Linked DNA regions of Homo sapiens: all the other regions are linked to region 1. Evidence: promoter capture Hi-C in 16 types of primary human blood cells and fetal thymus (Javierre and others, 2016). All regions are on one chromosome and are shown on one strand. Each heading gives the region's core, a stretch centred on a gene start or on the middle of the fragment in contact. The rest is flanking DNA. Distances are from core to core; before and after follow the strand shown.

What was found. The method cuts DNA at HindIII sites, captures the fragments that hold promoters and counts their contacts. A CHiCAGO score of 5 or more calls a contact.
Region 2: a fragment that was not itself captured here is called in contact with the fragment with the promoter of GOSR2 in region 1 in 2 of 17 cell types (total CD8 T cells and total B cells); the score reaches 7.0 in total CD8 T cells.
Region 3: a contact is called between the fragment with the promoter of CDC27 here and the fragment with the promoter of GOSR2 in region 1, in 13 of 17 cell types (naive CD8 T cells, activated CD4 T cells, naive B cells and 10 more). The highest score is 11.7, in naive CD8 T cells.

What each region holds. Positions count from the first base shown.
Region 1 is chr17:46,921,451-46,925,178 of GRCh38, forward strand. GOSR2 (golgi SNAP receptor complex member 2) reads left to right here and starts at 1,710. Exons shown (of 6, transcript NM_004287.5): 1 at 1,710-1,771. The coding sequence starts at 1,743. It overlaps GOSR2-DT (GOSR2 divergent transcript), which reads right to left and starts at 1,421. Exons shown (of 3, transcript NR_186460.1): 1 at 1,361-1,421. It also overlaps a transcript of LRRC37A2 not described here. RefSeq lists an enhancer at 1,686-2,410. The HindIII fragment of the contact is 7,846 bases long and covers 1,281-3,728 here.
Region 2 is chr17:47,322,356-47,326,083 of GRCh38, forward strand. It overlaps EFCAB13 (EF-hand calcium binding domain 13), which reads left to right and starts at 1,600. Exons shown (of 25, transcript NM_152347.5): 1 at 1,600-1,719; 2 at 2,099-2,168. It overlaps EFCAB13-DT (EFCAB13 divergent transcript), which reads right to left and starts at 1,546. Exons shown (of 3, transcript NR_110880.1): 1 at 1,334-1,546. RefSeq lists a silencer at 1,329-1,738 and enhancers at 2,079-2,168, 2,209-2,388. The HindIII fragment of the contact is 2,873 bases long and covers 658-3,530 here.
Region 3 is chr17:47,187,633-47,191,360 of GRCh38, forward strand. It overlaps CDC27 (cell division cycle 27), which reads right to left and starts at 1,663. Exons shown (of 19, transcript NM_001256.6): 1 at 1,514-1,663. The coding sequence starts at 1,540. It also overlaps a transcript of MYL4 not described here. RefSeq lists a silencer at 1,188-1,237 and enhancers at 1,271-1,867, 1,398-1,587. The HindIII fragment of the contact is 9,297 bases long and covers 1-3,728 here.

The sequences.
Region 1 (3,728 bases), core at 460-2,959:
GCAATGACAACGAAAGCCAAAATTGACAAATGGGATCTAATTAAACTAAAGAGCTTCTGCACAGCAAAAGAAACTACCATCAGAGTGAACAGGCAACCTACAGAATGGGAGAAAATTTTTGCAATCTACTCATCTGACAAAGAGCTAATATCCAGAATCTACAATGAACTCAAACAAATTTACAAGAAAAAAACAAACAACCCCATCAACAAGTGGGCGAAGGATATGAACAGACACTTCTCAAAAGAAGACATTTATGCAGCCAACAGACACATGAAAAAATGCTCATCATCACTGGCCATCAGAGAAATGCAAATCAAAACCACAATGAGATACCATCTCACACCAGTTAGAATGGCGACCATTAAAAAGTCAGGAAACAACAGCTGCTGGAGAGGATGTGGAGAAATAAGAACACTTTTACACTGTTGGTGGGACTGTTAACTGGTTCAACCATTGTGGAAGACAGTGTGGAGATTTCTCAGGGATCTAGAACTAGAAATACCATTTGACCCAGCCATCCCATTACTGGGTATATACCCAAAGGATTATAAATCATGCTGCTATAAAGACACATTTACATGTATGTTTATTGCAGCACTATTCACAATAGCAAAGACCTGGAACCAACCCAAATGTCCAACAATGACAGACTGGATTAAGAAAATGTGGCATATATACACCATGGAATACTATGCAGCCATAAAAAATGATGAGTTCATGTCCTTTGTAGGGACACGGATGAAGCTGGAAACCAACATTCTCAGCAAACTATCGCAAGGACAAAAAAACAAACATTACATGTTCTCACTCATAGGTGGGAACTGAACGATGAGAACACTTGGACACAGGAAGGGGGACATCACACTTCGGGGCCTGTTGTGGGGTGGGGAGAGGGGGAAGGGATAGCATTAGGAGATATACCTAATGTAAATGACGAGTTAATGGGTGCAGCACACCAACATGGCACATGTATACATATGTAACAACCCTGCACGTTGTGCACATGTACCCTAGAACTTAAAGTATAATAATAAAAAATAATAAAATAAAGAAAAAAAATCTATAACTACATTTCTTGTAATTTTGTCTTTTGAGAGTATACATATCTTATTTCCTTTCCCAGACCAGAACCTCTTTGAGGGCAGGAGGAACCCGGTTTTCCCTACTTTACACATGACACATAATAACCACTCATTCAATGTAGGTTTACTGGATGGATAAATAGGAATGGGGGGTAGATAGGCGGGAGAGTGAGTAGACAAATGCGAAACAGGAAAAGCTTGCGCCAGGAAAAACAGTGAAGAGCGAAATCTCCAGACCCCCGATTAAATGGTTTAAAGTGAAGCCAAGCAAGAACCTCCAGTCCTCTCTGCGGCAGAGAACAGCAGATGATAGCGGCTCGCCTTCAACTTTGCTCTGAGGACCTCTCGTTAGTATCCCGCGATTGTCCTTCCTAACGCCTGACTGAATCCTGAGGCTAGCCTTCAGCGAACATGTACACCGCCTTGCCCTTCACGTGAAGCCGAGCCTGTGACTACACTTATCCTTCCGTCGCCGGCCTCATTTCTCCTTCCCCTTCTCCGATCTCGCAACCACTGCTAGTAAGGCGCGCGTGCGGGCAGCCCTGGCCGGCAGGGGAGGGAGGGTCCTGCGACCGGAAGCCGGAAACCGGAAGGGGGGCTGTGAGGACGTGTTCCGAGGAAGCCAGAGCCGGAGCCGTGGCCTGCGGGGCCGGCGACATGGATCCCCTGTTCCAGCAAACGCACAAGTGAGGGCCGGTCGGGGAGCGGGCAGGGGCTAGACGAGGCGAGGCCAGGTGAGCCTGGCTTCTGGGGCTGAGGCCTCGGACGTCAGCCAGGGTAGAGGCCGAGTTTTTCCGCCAGGGCACTGCTGGGGATGCCTCCGAAGTGCTTAATCCTTGGCGGGACTCCCAGGTCAGCCACAGACAGTGGGTTCAGGCTGGGGCCTGGAGACGTGGGGCAGATGACTCCTGGGGTCTGCAAGTTCGTGACTACCTGCTGGGTAGACTGGGTGACGGGAAACTGGCACCTGCAGGTTATAAAACTTTGTCCAGCACTTGTCAACTCGGTGCTCCTGGTTGGTAGACCTCGAGAGGAGACACGGAGTAGGAGACACGGCCCCTGGCCGTAGGAGTGTACTGTTTAATTGGAGAGTCAGGGCACGTACGGGAAAGTATTTGTATTCTTATTCGATTTATACTAAAGACCACATTTTTATGGTACAAAGAAATTGCTGTCCACGTAGCATTCACTATTATTACTTGTTAATCGTATCTGGTTACAGGTTATCGCTAAGAAAATCAAATTGTAATTTAGTTTCTCATAACTTAAATTCCTTGGTAGTGTCCTTTATTCGCATCGTCCTGCACTTTCGGAATTGCTGAGATACGTAGTTGAGTATTAATGGGGCCATACTTACCCTATTTTTGGGGGCGGGGGGCAGAATTATGATTTTTACCCTGTTTTGGAGGGACGGAATTTTATGATTTTTATTTTTTATTGTAAAATATACACAACATAAGATTTACTGTTTTAACAATTTTTAAGTGTACAATTCAGTGACATTGAGTACATTCACAACTTACATCACTACGATCCATTTCCAGAACTTTTTCATCATCCCAGTGTGCCTGTTAATCAGTAGCACTTCATTTCTTCCTTCCAGAACACCTAGTAACCTCTGTTTTACTTCTCTCTATGAGTTTACCTATTCTAGATACTTAATATAAGTGGAGTCATACAGAATTTGTCCTTTTGTATCTGGCTTATTTCACTTAATGTTTTCAGGGTTCATCTATATTGTAGCCTGTTACCAGAATTTCATTCTGTTTTATGACGGAATAATATTCCGTTTTATGTGTCTACCACATTTTGTTATCCATTCATCTGTTGATGGACACTTGAGTTGTTTCCACCATTGGGCTGTTGAGAATAATACTGCTATGAACTCTGGTGTAGAAGTATCTGTTTTAGTTTCTCTTCTCAATTTTTTGAGGTATATACCTATCCTATTGAGAACTTTCAAACTTATGCTGTAGTTTTGTTGATTAAAACACTTAAAATCACACTCCCAAGGCCTGGAAATGAAATGCCCTGAAGCATGAGGAATAAGAGGGTGATGATCCTCTTTCTCTTTCATTTTCTAAGTTTATGGGTTTCTTTTATTTTGGCGATGAGGTGTTTCATTTGGACAGGCGAAAATACAGAACCTACTTTGTAATGACAGAATTTTCTTTTACACTGGGGAGCCCTATTCTCACATAAACGTTATAGGAAGGGACTTAAAACTAGTCTGTGAGTAATTTAGAGAAAGAATGAAACGAAATTATGTTCATGTTACTAAGAAAGGGCCTATCTTTCACAATAGCAGGGCACAATGGGCATAGTAGTGCCTTGAAGTTAATCTGTTATGTATGGTCTTATCTAGTTAATTTAGTTAAAGGATGTTGCCAAGAAGGCCATGACCCATTTTATATTCAAGAATAACTTTATTTAGAGAGTCTTAGACTACCTGTTTTCAGTGCAGCTAATCACAGAGAAAACTGCATGGCTCAGAAGAGGAATTCTAAATGGTACCCCAAACAAGGTGTGTGGAGTGTAGATGCTCTGTAGGCCTCCAACAATGCACCCTTGGACTCTAGCAGCTTGCCAGTTTTTTCTATTAAGGGCCAGATAGTAAATATTTTAGGCTCTGTGGGCTATACG
Region 2 (3,728 bases), core at 844-3,343, 400 kb after region 1:
AAAAATTAAAAATAGAACTACCATATGATCCAGCGATGCTATTTCTGGGCATATATTGAGTAACTGAAATCAGTATATCAAAGACTTATTTGCACTTCCATGTTCATTTCAGCATTATGCACAATCGCTGAGATAATGGAATCAACCTGTGTCCATCGATGGATGAATGGATAAAGAAAATGTAGTAAACATATGCAATGGATACTATTCAGCCTTAAAAAAGAATTTCTGTCATTTGTGACAACATGAATCAACATATGCAATGGATACTATTCAGCCTTAAAAAAGAATTTCTGTCATTTGTGACAACATGAATCAACTTGGAGGACATACTAAGTGAAAAAAGCCAGGCACAGAAAGACACATACCACATGATCTCACTTATATGTGGAATCTTAAAAAGTCAAACTCATAGAAGTAGACAGTAGAATAGTTGTTAGAGGCTGGAAAGGGACGGGGCGGGTAGGAGATGCAGGATGGGGAGATGCTGTTCAAAGGGTACAAGGTTCAGTCAGACAAAAGCAGCAAGTTTCTGAGATCTATTGCATAGTGTGGTGACTATAGCTAATAATAATATATCGTATATCTCAAAACTGCTAAGAGTAAATTTCAAATGTCTCACCATAAAAAACGTTAAACAAGGTGATGGATATGTTAAGCTTGACTTAGTCGTTCCATATTGTATACATATATTAAAATATAACATTGTACCCCATTAAATATTTACAATTATGATTTGTACATATATTTAATAATAATAAAAATCTAAATAAAATATTAAAGAATGCCTACAAAGCAAGGTTTAAGATGTAAATGAACACAGTAGTATCACGGAAGGGATTAAATATTGTAACATTTATTGAGCACTACGTATATATTTTTGAATTCCCACAACCCTGGAAGAATGAGAAAATCGAGACTCAGGGAGCGTTAAGTATTTTGCCCAACTGCATACGATAAATACATAGGAAAAACAAACACACAGAAGAAAACCAAACCAACCAAAGTATCTCTTTCAAAAGGAAACGACAGTCTCCTTAAAGGCAACCCGAGACAAATTTCAGCAAAGCCGTGGGACACATGGCCTTCGAGCTGCTGTCCATTATTGAGTAGCAGAAGCCAAGAAGGATGGAATGTTTTGGAAGAAAGGGGTCGGGGGTCGGGGTGTTCAAAGGACGGACCGAAGGTAAGATTGAAGTGGGGTCAGACCATGGCGGGACAGCGCACCGGAGAATGAACAGCGATTAGGGAAGAGTGGCGAGCGGGTGGCAAGGACGGAGGGCGGAATCCCGGCCGGGGCTGCGGGAGGAAAGCGCACGGACAGGAGCCCCACCGCTCGAATGCAGCGCCCGGCGGCTGGCCTCGTGAGGTCACAGGCCCTTACGAGGTGGGGCAGGCAGGCGCGGCCGCAGTGCCTTCCAGTCAGCGCGGAGGCGGTATTGAGTTCAGCCGCTCCCCACAGCCCCGGAGCCCCTGGGCGGTGGCGGTGGCCGCGGCAGCACCGGCTCGACAGCCGATAGGGTCCTGGGCCCGCTCCGCTCGGGGTGGTCGGTGGGCGGAGCGTCGGGCTCGGTCAGGTGACCGCGGGGGCGGGGCCGCGCGGCGCGGGATCCTGGGAAGGCTGCAGAGCTAGAGCAGCGCCGCCCGAGGGGCGGCAGGGGCTGACCACAGAGAGCGCGGGGGCCTCCAGCCGAGAGGAAGGGAGGGCAGCTCGGGCCGGTAGTGGGACCCTTGGGGGACAGAGGTGGGGAGGGGAGGCGAGACCCGCTGAGGAGTTGGGAGGGGAGCCTTCGAGGTGGAGGGTGGAGAATGCAGTAGGGTGCGAGGGAGGAAGGAGAACAGTGGTGGGGCTGGGTGAAGGAAGGTTCCAGAAAGGAACAGTGAGGGGACTGAGTGGGACAAAGGGGCAGATTGAAGGGTGACTGAGACTGATCAGGTGGTTCCTCAGAAATGGTGGTTGTTGTAGAAGGCTGGCGGTCCCGGGGGTGGTGTCACTTCCCTGCTCCTTCAGCGGGAGGCGGAGACCTCTATTAGCACACTCATTTCCATCTTGCGGGTCGTTCACTCGCTAGCTTACAGGTCCTCTTTCTTCCTGTAGAAGTCGTTGGCTTCGTAAGAGCAGGGTCTATGGGAAGCCTCCTCAGCGTGGGTTCTTGGAAGAGGTGGAGGTTCGTTCACTCGACGTTTGTTACACAAATATGAAAACAGGGTGACGAAAGTTTGAACGTTCATGAATGGCAGTAGCTGCAATGGAGTTGTGTATGCAGTTGGTATTAATGACGTTTTCAGTCCCTCTGGCGAGAGAAAAGCGAGCGAGTCGGGCGGCTTGTGAGGGAAATGTGGCATGAGAGGAAAGAGGAAGGTATTTTGTGAAAGGATGTCATACAGAGTCATGCTTCAGTGAAGACGCCTTTGTTTTTCTCATCTTAAAGCCTCACAGCCCCATTTTCCTCTCAGCTACTGCCTTATTTCTCTTAACAACGTAACTCCTTGAAAGAGCCTACCCTACTGGCTGGGTTCAATTTCTTTACCCCGTTCTCTCTTGTACTCACTCTGACGACATTGTCTCCTTACCACCCCACCCAGATGGCTCCTTTCAAGTTTGTCAGTGTCCTCCGTGTTGTGAAACCTAGCGAACCATTCAGTACTGATCTTAACCGCCCACCCCACCCCCCTTTTTTTTTTTTGAGACAAGGTCTCTGTCGTCCAGGCTGGAGTGCAGTGGTGCAATCATAGCCCACTGCAGCTTCAAACTCCTGGGCTCAAAAGATCCTCCTGGCTCAGTCTTTGGAGTAGCTGGGACTAAGGTCGCCATGTCCAGCTGATTAAAAAAAAAATTCTGTAGAGGTGGGAGTTTCACTGTTGCCCAGGCTGGTCTTGAACTCCTGGCCTTAAGCAGCCCTCCTGCTTAGACCCCCACCCCCGCATCAAAGTGTTGGGATTACCTGCATAAGCCACCATGCACAGCCTGATTGCTCACTCTTGAAGTACTTTCTTCACTTGGCATTCAGGAACCCAGACCTACCTGATTTCCCTCCTCACAGTAACCAGAGTGATCCTTTCAGAAAGAACTTCAGATTATGTAATCCTTCTCCTCAGAACTCTTTCAATGCTTGTCACTCCTTCAGAGTACAAGCCACAGTTCTTACTGTCATCTAGGGGTCCTCCATGATATGCCACTTTCACTTAGCCTCTCTGATCTCTCCTGCTTCAGCCTCCTGGGGCCTTCCCACTATTCCTTGAACATTCTTCTTGCCTCGGGGCTTTTGTACTTACTTTTCTTTCTGGCTGAAATGCTCTTCCCTAAGATATTAATCAGCTCCCTACTTCAGTTCTTGCAGGTCTGTACTCAAAAGTCTCCCTCTCAGTAAGGTCTTCCTTGGCCACCCATTCTGTTCCCTGCATCTCTTCCCCTATACTACATTTCATATTCCCCTCCCTGCTTTACTTTTTTTTTTGTACTTATTGCAGATAACATACAATATGTTTTATTTTTCTATTTTATTATTTCACTCCCTGACTAGAACATAAGCTTCATGAGGGCAGATTTTATATATATATAAACAAAATATATATATATATATATATATATATATATATATATATAGCATATATATATTTTGTTCATTGGTATATCCCTAGAGCCTAGGAGAGAACCTAGTGCACACTAAGCATGCAGACATATACGTTGAATTCATGGATAGAAAGGTGAATGGATAGATGACTGG
Region 3 (3,728 bases), core at 413-2,912, 270 kb after region 1:
TTAAATGGTGGTTATAGTCTATCAATGCAACTAGTTTATCACTTTAGAAGACTTCTGGGGCCAGAGAAGGCAAAAAAAAAAAAATCATTAACTATTAAAACAAAATTATAAGAATATGCAACAGAAATTAAATAACTTGAGTAATCTGCTTATCTATTTAAGTTCATGTTAGGCCTTAAAAAATTATATATATATAATTACCTCATCTACAGCCAGAATAAAAAAAAATCTTAAAAGAAACTATACTGGTAAAAAGAATTTGGATGGAAATAGCTCTAGAAAAACTAATACAACTTACAGACAGGTAAATTTCATAAGATATAATCTTACGTTTTATTAATTCAAACACTAATAGCTGCTATATGTAAACAGCTGGAGAAAAAAACCAAACTAGAAGAAATGAGTATTTCATGCTGTTTAGAAAAATGAAATAAATATGAAAGTAGTGATATATTAAAATATTTACTGTTTGATACCTCAAGCCTTTTAAGGGCAATATGAAGGAATTTCTAAAAATCAGTTTGCTTTATAACTTCAAAATAAAGTCCATGACTCAATGACAGCAGTTGATAGAGGTCAATTCTGATCAAGTTAAAGATCATATAGTGGGATGAAGTCTCCCAGACCTGGTCCATTACCAAGGCACAAAAGATACAGTTTCTCCAGATGTCAGGGGGGAAAATGACTTGGCACCGCATCACACACTTAAAATCCAATAGGGTTCCTTTAATGCAACACAGCACTGTGCGTCAAAGCATACCCTGGTGTAAAGGCAGTGAAATGGACAGAAACACCATTATTTGTGTTTCATTTCCTGAATGCCTTATAAACATGCACAACAAAATGCTCCTGATCCCCATCAGAGAGGATGAAAACAACCCAAATGTGCCCTTTCCACCTCCTCCCCTGGTATTGGTGCTTGCGCCTCAGCACTGAGGCTTGGAGTTGTCTTCTCAAACCATCATTGTCCGGTGGGAAATTCACCGAGAAAGGAAACGTGGGATAGGAAGTCTGTTACCAAAATAGAAATTAGTATTAAAAAGACCGATCCTACGCTCCCTCCACCCTCTCATACAAGACAAAATAAAAAAAACCTCCGTAAACTTGCCCTACCGTCACGAAGATCACACAAGCTCCGATCAAATGTGCTTCTCGATCATCTTTTAGGCAAGAGAGCGCTTGGGGTGCATTTTCGGCCCCTCATCTCCCACCCCCAGTCAAGCCAGGCCCCTGGACTGACAGGAAAGGCTGGCCGGACGTTGGCTCGGACGGGAAAGGCGGTTATTTTCGCCGAAGCCGCTCACGCTAAGGGTGAAGTAATGTAGGGCCAGAGGTAACACGGCTTAGGCTGTGGGCAAGGCCTCCGAACTGACTAAAGATAGGCAGGACACGGCAGCAGGGGAGGCGGGAGAAGCAGCCGGGCCTAGGCCGCACCAGGCCGCGGAGTGGCCCTACGCTGCTGCTTCCCGACCGAGGCTGCCAGCCAAGCCCCAGAGAAGAAGGTTATCATTACCTGGACGGGTTCCTGCAGCACCGTCATCCTCGAGGCTCAGGCCCACTTTCTGCAGTGCCTCAGGCCCCCCCTGTAGCGGCTCCGGCCCGGCCAGCCCCTGCTCATTTAAACTCACCAGCGACCGTTACCGGGGGATGGGGGAGGCCGAGCGATTGCCGAGTGCTTCCGAGCGGGACACGGGAATACCCGAAGTGGAGAAAGCCGAGCGGGAACCAGACGGAAAAGCCCGAAGGGAGTCGGAAATACCCGAGGTTGGTCGACGAGAGAGAAAACCGTTGCCGGAAATTGTCGAAGATTACCGGAAGCTACCGAGTCTGACCCAAAGCGTAGGTTTCTCTTCTCAGCCACGCCTTCAGCCACGCACACCACGCCCAATCGGCCGTCCCAGGGTTGGGCTACGCCAAATCTGCAACCAGCAGGCTGGGCGTGGCGTGACAGCGCGGGCGGGTAGCGTTACGTGGCGGGGCTGCAGTGTGGATTAGCCCCTCAGCCCTTTTGGATTAATTGGTGTGCTGTAGATTATGAAGCAAAGGGTGAAACAGCAGAGTTTGGGGCTGTCTTTAATGAATCAACAAGTATTTGTCTATTGAGTTTAGATCATTCGTCCATTCCAGAAGTATCTACTCACGGCTCTGGGGGAAAGCTAAAGAAATTTGGAAAGATTGCCACTCCCCAAAGACATAGGATAGCTTCTGTCTTCAAGGAGATTAAGGTCTATTTAAGGGAAAAGCAGTGTAACAGAGAACGCTATATTATATGGTGCCTATTATAAGTAATATAAAAATTCAGAGAGGGCAATTGTGATAAGATAAGGAAAGTTCTATGGAAGGAAAAAAAAGTTTAAAATGGAGTTTGAAGGATGGGTAAAATTAGAGGAAAAAGAAGTATAGGAAAGTGAAGGGAGGAAAAATGGGATCAGTCTGCTAAGAAGGCATTAATTGGAAATAGTTACTTAGGTGAAGAGATCATGGAAAAGCTCAATAGGCCATTAGAAATTTTTATTTTTGATAGGTGAGGCATTCCGCTGTGGTGGGAAGAGTAGGGGGTCGGAAATTCAGAGGCCTGGTTTTGAATTTTATCTTTAGCACTAACTAGTCATAGGTCCTTGGCAAATTACCTCTCTGAACTTATGTTCGCTTAGTTTGAAAAAAAAGGATTAAGAGAATTCGATGTATTATAAATGTGGCCGTGTCTAGCATGCAATGTAGACTCTCTCATATTTCCTTTCTGCTCCCCTTCTCCCCCCAAAAAGAGTGAACCAGGGGACTGTTTAAATTTTGTTTTTCAGCAGATGAGGAAACAGTTTTTGAAAGTTACTTTTCTAGTCAGGAGCTCTCTAGGCTAGATGTGAGAATCATGATATATTCCATTGCTTGGAAATTTCCCTTTGGGTGATGTTAGAGGGAGATATTTTTTCTTTCATTTTTAAAAACAAGGCTGACAGAGCTACACTGCATCCTTCTCCACCGCCTTGTCTTGTCACTGTATATATACTTATAGCCCCTAAAGGGCAGGTGCTAAGATGATTTTTGGCTGCCCTGTGCCCAGTTGCTTTAGCGGGATTATGCTGGATGACTTGAGTGGTAACAGACTTTTACACTGGCCTGGAAAGTAGCCATTAGCTATTTAAAGTTTAAGTTAAAATGAAATTAAAAATGAAGTTCTTCAGATGCCCTAGCCACATTCCAAGGATTCAGTAGCCCTGTATGTGGCTAGTGACTGCCATATTGGACAGTCACACAGATATAGAAGAACATCACCAGCACTGGCTTGGCTAGGGCTGAAAGATTCAAGATGGCTTCACTCACATGTCTAGGGTGTCAGTGGTAGCTATTGGCTGGGTCCTTCATTTCTTCTCTGCATGACCTCTCTTTTCACACTGGCCTCTTATGAGTCAGTAGTTTAGCTCCAGCTTCTTGACTTGGTGGTTGACAACAAAGTGCGCAAAAATAGAAGCTGTGAGGTCCCTTAGGCCTAGGCCTGTGAGCATCACTTCTTGTTGGTCAGAGTAAGACTCAGAGCCACCCTGGATTCACCAGGAGGAATAGTCTACTTCTTAATGGGAAGAGTGGCAAAGTAACACCACAAAGGGCGTGTGCCATGGGAGGAGTTTTTGGGTCATCTTTGGAAACAATCTACCACGCTAGATATGAGATGAGAGTATCTAAGATTGGGAATGGAAAGAAAGGGATAAGTAAGAGCTATCACTCTTAAA